Linked DNA regions of Homo sapiens: region 1 is linked to region 2. The links are contacts of gene promoters, found by promoter capture Hi-C in blood cells and fetal thymus (Javierre and others, 2016). All regions are on one chromosome and are shown on one strand. The core of a region is centred on a gene start or on the middle of the fragment in contact, and the rest is flanking DNA. Distances in the headings are between cores, read along the strand shown. Region 1 overlaps ATG2B (autophagy related 2B). Region 2 holds the start of AK7 (adenylate kinase 7).

Region 1 (4,347 bases), core at 1,471-3,970, 60 kb before region 2:
GACAAGTTAGTTAACTCATGTGATATCTCATCTGTAAAATGTAGGCGAGGATTCAAATAAATTCATTTCCAAGAAAGTGTTTTTGAAATAAAACACTATAAAGGGTCAAAGTAACAGCAATGAACATAACTTTGACAGTTTTCTAAAGTTTCTTTAGGTCACACTTTTACATTAGGAAAAATATCAGAAAAATGGTGAATGAACACAAGACATTTAACTTGTCTTAAACAATGCTTAGCACACAGCAGGCATTCGATAATTATTTGTTCAATAATCAAATTCTTCTGAAATGAAGAGTGCTTTGAACATGAGTGAAATGAAGTCATTTCTCTCATAACCCACCTGTCACTCCTAAACAAGTCAACTCTAATTTAAAATTCTAACAGATCCTTATAACGATGTTGAGTGACATTCTTAAATATATTTCTATAGAACACAAGTGCAAAAAGAAAATGACAATATTCCTCCTATGGCTTTCTATACATTTTTAAAGAAAATCATTGCCTCATACAATCATTAAAAAGCAAGGTAGATTTAAAAAATAATCTTAAAGAAAAAGTATTCAATATTTACCTCTGTATAGTGAGGAGGAACAGAATGAAAATCAGTTGGAAATAGGCACTCCAAAAATTCCATTTGCCCAATGGACATATCAGTACTAAAATATCGGGAAGCTGATCTTTGTCTTTGTTCATAGGATACTTTAATGCCAGTACCTATAAATCTATTATAAAAAATGCACCATTTAAGATTATTAGTGTTAAAATGTAACAATTATCCACCTAGTCTGACAAGTTCAAGTTATCAATAATTAATACTCCTAAGGAAATTAACCAGAAAGATTGCTTCAAATTTCCCTTTCCTTAAGATAAAAAATCAGTTCTGTTGATGGGAAATTTTCCAGGATCTGTTTATTTCCCAACACTGCCCTTCGTCTTCCACATTTAAAAATTTACATTGCAAAGGCAAAATCTTTCAGATCTGTAAAATATATGAAATAGTCTCTTAAAATTATCTAAAAACATTATGCAATATTTCAAAAACTTTAGTCGGTGAAGCCCAAATGAGGTCTACCTATATTTTCTGCCGCTTTTGTTCTATTTTCCTACTGGCAGATGTTTGAAACTTTGTCAAAAATGGGAAAAAAAAAAAAAAAAGTCCAGGCACAGTGGCTCATGCCTGTAATCCCAGCACTTGAGGAGGACAAGGTGGGCGGATCACCTGAGGTCAGGACTTCGAGACCAGCCTGGCCAGTATGGTGAAACCCCATCTCTCTTAAAAATACAAGAAAAAAAAAGGGGGGTGGAAGAAAACAAAATGTTTTTACAGTTTGAGTATAAATACTATAATCCTAACCTGTAGAGTTTTTCTTGTATTAGGTGTAAAACTACTTTTCATATCAATTTTCATACTTTAAAAAAGTTAAAAAGATTAAATAAACGCCCAAAGTATTTTCTAAAAATACTAATATATGATATGTTTAAACCACCGTATAAGATGTCATTCAACAATTTATAGATCACTTTCACATTAAAATTGTAAAACAGAGTTTGCATGTTAACAATACTAAAGGCTGGGCGTGGTGGCTCACGCCTGTAATCCCAGCACTTTGGGAGACCGAGGCAGGTGGATCACTGGAGGGCAGGAGTTCGAGACCAGCCTGGCCAACATGGTGAAACCCCATCTCTACTAAAGATACAAAAACTAGCTGGGCATGGTGGCACATGCCTGTAATCTCAGCTACTCAGGAGGCTGAGGCTGCAGAATAGCTTGAACCTGAGAGGCAGAGGTTGCAGTGAGCCAAGATTGCGCCACTGCACTCCAGCCTGGACGATGGAGTGAGACTCTGTCTCAAAACAAAAAACAAAACAAAACAAAAAAACCAACTATATTACAAATTCAATTATCTCCTCATCTGTTAAGACTCAACCCATGAAAGGATCACTCACTGGCTATTTGGATAGCTTTGATTTTTCTTAAGCAGAAGTTGAAACGTAGCATCCAAGTTTCAGGATCAGCCTTGGTAATGTTTCCCACCCCATGGCCAGTGGCATATGGATCAGTTCCAATAGTATTATTTTATTTTTCATCACCACTGTCATCTCTGCTAATGCCAGTGACAATAAGAACTGTTTTCACGACTGCAGTGGTGTCAATAGGGATGAAGGCAAAATGTGGTTAAAGAAACTTGACAAGAGCTGGGCAGGGAACTAAAGAGATCACTTTGAAAACTCCTATTATCTAGATCTGTTATTCTGCATGCCAAATAACCTGAATGAAAGATTCTAAACACCTTTGCAGCACTGCAAGAAAACTTCACTCATTCCATTCATTTACAAATAAAATGTGAATTAGAAAAACAAATGCAGATAGGCAGATACAAAAGTCCACATGTGGTTCTTTTTCAAGGATCATTAGCATATGTGGAAGTTTAAAGGATCATTAATACATATGTGAGAGTTTACCTAAGGTGATCGTGTGAGCAAGCTTCTGCAAACACTGCTCGGAAAGACTTAAAATCTTCTGTTGAAAATCTTGCTGGATCAATCTTTTCTATACAAGTAAAGAAAGCTACTGCCATAGGTGTCAATGGATTAAGGTTCTGTGACGTTTCAGGTGGAGATAAAGGATCAATGTGAAGCACAGAGATTGAAAAAGTTCCCACAGCTAGTCTAAAAATAAGTTCAGGCCTTGATTCATCCACTGAAACAGATCTAGATGGGAGAGCTAAAATACAAGTATTAAAATTATATACATAAAATTTGACACATAAAACTATTAAAATTATAAAACATTTACTCATTTATTAGCTTTAAAAAACAGATGATCATACAACAGTTTGAATGATATTAAACAATTAATTTAAGTAAAATCAACTGCTATCTTGCTGCATCTTACATCCAAGATTTTTGTACTAAAGTACAAGAGTACGTGACAACAGTAAATGTACAAACCAAGCTTTTATATTAATAAAAACATACTGGAAAACTCAAGATTAACCAAAAACTGCTCACCAAATTTTCCTTTAAGCCTTGGGTCTATATCAATTAAATTTTGCAGAAAAGAAACCTGAGGTTCTCTTCCAAGGAAAATGTAAATAGTGAAACAAAAATCACATGATTGACTGAGGGTCCTGAACTGCAATAATAATATGAAACTTACAGTGTACTTTTAACTAAAAATATTTAAGTATTTAAATACACAAAGAATACAATAAATGAGCAACTATTCTAAAACACTTCACAGTGAATTGTTTAACAATGGTTCATTTTGCTTTCTGAACTTTGTAAATGGCCAAGACCAGAAAAAAAAAAAAAAGAAAGAAAAGCACCAGTAGAATGGCATTTTAAAAATTCCAGCGGAAACTAACAACAAATGTCTTATTTTTACTTACATGTCTTCTGTAAAGGTGTTGGGTGAACTAGGTTGGATGGAAATGTTGACCCTCTTACTGGCTGTTCTTTATGATGATCAAGGAACTCTCCCCAAGTGGGCTGAAGCTATAAAAGATTTTTTTTAAGCACATGAATGAAGTGTAGAATTTTAGAAGCAACTTTTCAGTCTAGAAGAAAAATTAAGTAATACTTTACCACAGTAGCACTTAATGGAGATCCTGCTGGGGTATTTGTATATGTACTAGTTAATGATAACTCAAGGTCCATGTTTGGGGGGTCCCCAAGGGGTGGAAGAGAAGAGAGACTATGAGACATGTCCATATCAGCCATGGAGAAGAATACTTCTTCTTCTAGAGAGAATTAAACTATGTCACTTGTATTATAATCCCACCAATTCAAGTCTTTTAAGTAAGTTAATATACGTTAATACAATCCTCTTCCTTCAGATTATATGAGATACAGCGATGCCCCAAATTTTATGTTACTTACAGTGGTGTAATTTATGAGTCCAAAATATTAATGGCATAGTAAAAACTCAATATAAATTAATAAAAAATGAAGCTACCCTACTGATGAACATGTTTTCTTTTGTTTTAAATATATAAATGTAGTATTACCTGGTATATTTTTAATGTGATATGCCAGTTTAGGAATTAAAATCAGATATTAAAATAGTATAAATATATTGCAACCTCTAGTTTCATCTGGATACAGTTATTTCTTTTATTCAGAGCCAAAAACATTATTTGGAATTCCATTTACATTTCAGTTCCTTCTTTCGGAATTGTTTTACTCTCATGCAAATGAAGTTTATTATGGCCAAAATTTTTTGAGTAGGGTTTGATTTCTTATTTTGTCCAACATTCCATACTTAAATTGATCCATATTATTTATGTTATTAGCATTTATACATTGTGAAACACCTATAAATGTAAAGTAAGCTGGGTAGAGA
Region 2 (4,435 bases), core at 1,898-4,397:
TGTCCCCATACAGTACGTGTTAATAAAAACCATCACATTAATTTTGTGTTTATACGAAAACTGATTTTAAAAGAGGGAAAGAATAACAAACATGTTAGTTGGTATACTAGAATTAGTAGAATCTCTGGCCTGGGTGTGGTGGCTCACACCTGTAATCCCAGCACTTTGGGAGGTTGAGGTGGGTGGGTCACCTGAGATCAGAAGTTTGAGACCAGCCTGGCCAACATGGTGAAACCATCTCTACTAAAAATGCAAAAATTAACTGGGTGTGGTGGCACACACCTGTAATCCCAACTCCTGGGGAGGCTGAGGCAGGAGAATTGCTTGAACCCGGGAGGCAGAGGTTGCAGTGAGCCAAGATTGCCCCCTGCACTCCAGCCTGGGCGACGAGTGAGACTCAATGTCAAAAAAAAAAAAAAATAGAATCCCCTTTTTTAACCTACCAATATATATAAAATTATCTAGAAGCTATCCCCCCTGTAACTGTGGCAAGCTCATTTCATGAAAGAAACAGGTAAGTTAAATATTTCATTGTACCATGACTGGTTGAATAACTTTCAAAGTGTTTACCTGCTTAACTGCATATCAACAAGGAATGCAGAGATAAACTAAAAATTTGAAAATGAATCGTGAATTTTAGAATAGTTGAACTAGTAAGTCATTTGAAAGAATGCTGAAGTATATTTTCTAAGTTTTGCACTAATTTTGCATGAATACTTTTACATTTAAACTGACATTACTTTCTTGTTGATTAAAGAAAAGCAAAAAATTGCCGGGCCTGGGGGCTCACACCTGTAATCTCAACACTTTGGGAGGCCGAGGCGGGTGGATCACAAGGTCAGGAGTTCAAAACCAGCCTGGCCAAAATGGTGAAACCCCCATTCTCTACTCAAAATAGAAAAACTAGCCGGGTGTGGTGGCACGCGCCTGTAATCCCAGCTACTGGGGAGGCTGAGGCAGGAGAATGGCTTGAACCCAGGAGGCAGAGGTTGCAGTGAGCCGAGGTCGCGCCACTGCACTCCAGCCTAAAGGATAGAGCAAGACTCCATCTCAAAAAAATAATAAATTTGGTATGAGCAAACTGTTCCCAAATTGAGTTGGCAAAACTTCAAAGCGTTAGTTTATCAAAACAAGTTTTAATGAGAGTTGCATGTATAGAAAAGAAAATGGGGTGGGGACAGAAAAACGAAATATAAAGGCTCCCATCTGTACAAGTGTGCCTTAGCCTTGCAGGAAAAAAAAGCAATAATTTCACCTTTGGCGACCACTTCAGAAAATGCTTCACATATGTCTTATTTAATCCTAACAGCCTTGTTAGGCTGGTGGTATCACTCCTATTTTACAGACAATTTAACAGCATAGGGAAAGTTAAAAGATTGGTCCCAGCCTCCCACAAATCACTGGAGAGCTGAAACTCAAAGCCAAGTCTCATGAGTGCCTGAAAGCCCAGAGCCTCCAAGCTGTCTGAAGATGTTGGGCCACCTCCGTTTTTTGAAACAACCAGTATTTTTTAAAAAGAAGAAGGCCAGGTGGGGTGCCTCACACCTGTAAATCACAGCACTTTGAGAGGCCGAGGCGGGTGGATCACTTGAGGCCAGAAGTTCAAGACCAGCGTGACCAACATGCTGAAAACCTGTCTCTACTAAAAATACAAAAATTAGCCGGGAACGGTGGTAGGCGCCTGTAGTCCCAGCTACTTCGAAGGCTGAGGCAGGAGAATCGCTTGAACCCGGGAGGCGAGGTTGCAGTGAGCTGAGATTATGCCATTGCACTCCAGTCTGGGTGACAGAGCGAGACTCCATCTCAAAAAAATAAATTAAAAATAAAAAGAACAAGAACGCTGGCGTGGTGGCTCATGCCTGTAATACCAGCACTTTGGGAGGACGAGGCAGGAGAGTTTCTTGAGCTCCGGAGTTAGAGACTAGCCTGGGCAACAAACATAGTGAGACCCTGTCTCTATTAAAAATAATAAAAAGAACGAGAAGAAACCACGCACACACAATTGCTGCAAGTGTTAAATATTTGCATTTAAGGAGTTAATGCTTAAGGCATGAAAACAGTTCAATATGATCAGGCTATTCCAAGGGAACTGCGTATTCTTAGTCCACCACAACCTTTATGGTCCAGTGATCACCGAGGTGAATGTTATCTTTTAATTTGTGGATTTATCTCAGCAACTGCATGTATAATCTCTTGTGGAACGGTCAAGTCTAAATTTCTTCCCTTGGTGAATGTGAGCGAATCCCGGGCGCCTACGGGCTCTGGTCGCCCCCAGCCGACACCAGGGGTCTTCCCGGAACGTGCGTCTGGAAACAACCCCCAAGGGAGCTGAGCCGGCGGACCAAGCCGCACCTGCCGCAAGGCGGGACCACGCTAGCGTCGCTCGGGTGTTCGGGAGCCCGAAACTCCATGGCAACAGCTTTTCTTCGCAGCTGAGGCTTACGTCCCGTCGCCCCGGCCAGACCACCCCATGGGAGCGTGCTGAGTAACTCCCACGTGTCGGGGAGAGGCCTAGGCTGTGGGCCATTCCCTCTTCTTCAGAATTCTCATTATTTTTAGTCATCGGGTCAAGCGGACACAGGGATGTGTTTCCAGACTTTCCGAACAATGGAGATTAAAAAGGCACAGCAATCACATGGCCCCCCGGGACAGACGCCCAGGGAGCTTCGGAAAGAAACCATGCACTGCCCAAGGGCTCCCAGTGGGCAGCAAGCCAGGGTGAGACCCGGGCTGCACGCGCGGCGCCGCGGAAAGCACTCGCAGGGACATCCGCCTGGCGCCCAGCAGCCGACAGCGCGCGCAGTTGCGAGCCCTGAGCCCCGCTTCGCCCGGCGCGCCCCGCCCAGCCCACTGCACTACACACCCCGCCCTGCCCGGCATGCCCCGCCCAACCCCCCGGCACGACTCGCCCCGCCCTACCCGGCACGCCCCGCCCAGCGACCGGCACAGCCTGCCCCGTCCCGCCTGGCACGCCCTGATTAGCGCCGGGCACGACACGCACCGCCCCGCCCGGCACTCCCTGCTTCGCCCACGACACGCCCCTCCCCGCCCGGCAAACTGCCCGGAGCCAAGGCCCCGCCCCCAGAGAGAACCTGCCCCGCCTCCCTGGCCCGGGCCCCGCCTCCTTGGCAAGCGAGTGGCGCTTTCACCTTAGCAACCAGCGCGGCTCCCACCATGGCTGAAGAAGAGGAAACTGCTGCTCTCACGGAGAAGGTTATCCGGACCCAGAGGGTGTTTATAAACCTGTTGGATTCCTACAGCAGCGGAAACATCGGGAAGGTGAGCGGCGGCGGCGGCCCAGAGCCTCACGCCAGCTCTCAGCTCCCAGCCCTCGGCCCCCGGTCCGCAAACCCAGCGAGGGTCTGCGCCCCAGGGCGCTGTCGGGGCCTTTCCTCAGGGAGGGTCCCGCGTCCTGGGCACCACCAATGCCCCCTGGACCCCAGTCCGCACCCAGGCTGGTCAAGAGATTCTACATGGAAGCTCAGGTGTCTGGAAATCACTGGTCCATCCCCTGTTCCTCCTTTTAATGAGGGGAAACTGAGGCTAAGAGGCAGGGACTTGCCCAAGATCACATAGAGAGTTGAGGCCAGAACCTGGACAGAGACTCCAGGTCTCTTGCCCCCTCCTAGGTTCTCTTTCTACCCTTCCATCGATTTTGAAGCAGGCAGCTAAACGAGAAAATAAATCAATTTTTTTTTTTTGAGACGGAGCCTTGCTCTGTCGCCCAGGCTGGAGTGCAGTGGCGCGATCTCGGCTCACTGCAAGCTCCGCCTCCCGGGTTCACGCCATTCTCCTGCCTCAGCCTCCGAGTAGCTGGGACTACAGGCGCCCGACACCGCGCCCGGCTAATTTTTTGTATTTTTAGCAGAGACGGGGTTTCACTGTGTTAGCCAGGATGGTCTCGATCGATCTCCTGACCTCGTGACCCACCCGTCTCGGCCTCCCAAATTACAGGCCGAGTAAATCCAAAAGGGATTACAGGCGTGAGTAAATCAAATTTTTATATTGCCCATGAAGCGTTTTTCATTCATCCATCCCTTCAATATATGGTTTTTGAGCATCTATTATGGACCAGACACTGTTTGGGTCCCCGAGTTCCATTAAGTTTCCTCACCTTTCTGTGTCTTTATCCCTGGAAAATGAAGATATTCAGAAAAAGGGCTCTGGGGCCCTTCATGCTAATATGATCAGTTGTCAAAAGAAAGCCATGATTTTATCATTCCCTGTGGGTAGGACCCGTCCATCTGAATTCTGTCCTCTAGAGCTACAGAGAAATCTAATCTCACCCTGGACAGACTTCTCTGAGGCTAATGACTGCACTTTCGAACAGGACAAATCTGCTTAAAATAGGATGAGGCTACAGTACGTACAATCTGTATTAGTTTTCTAGGGCTGTGGTAACCAATTGCCACAAACTGGATGACCTTATAAAACA

What was found. The method cuts DNA at HindIII sites, captures the fragments that hold promoters and counts their contacts. A CHiCAGO score of 5 or more calls a contact.
Region 1: a fragment that was not itself captured here is called in contact with the fragment with the promoter of AK7 in region 2 in 1 of 17 cell types (erythroblasts); the score reaches 5.5 in erythroblasts.

What each region holds. Positions count from the first base shown.
Region 1 is chr14:96,328,911-96,333,257 of GRCh38, forward strand. ATG2B (autophagy related 2B) reads right to left here. Exons shown (of 42, transcript NM_018036.7): 9 at 3,591-3,745; 10 at 3,395-3,500; 11 at 2,466-2,727; 12 at 574-724. Among named protein-coding and RNA genes, the nearest start is that of ATG2B, 32 kb to the right of the region's middle. The HindIII fragment of the contact is 471 bases long and covers 2,486-2,956 here.
Region 2 is chr14:96,388,981-96,393,415 of GRCh38, forward strand. It overlaps AK7 (adenylate kinase 7), which reads left to right and starts at 3,148. Exons shown (of 18, transcript NM_152327.5): 1 at 3,148-3,279. The coding sequence starts at 3,175. RefSeq lists a silencer at 2,708-3,217. The HindIII fragment of the contact is 12,427 bases long and covers 1-4,435 here.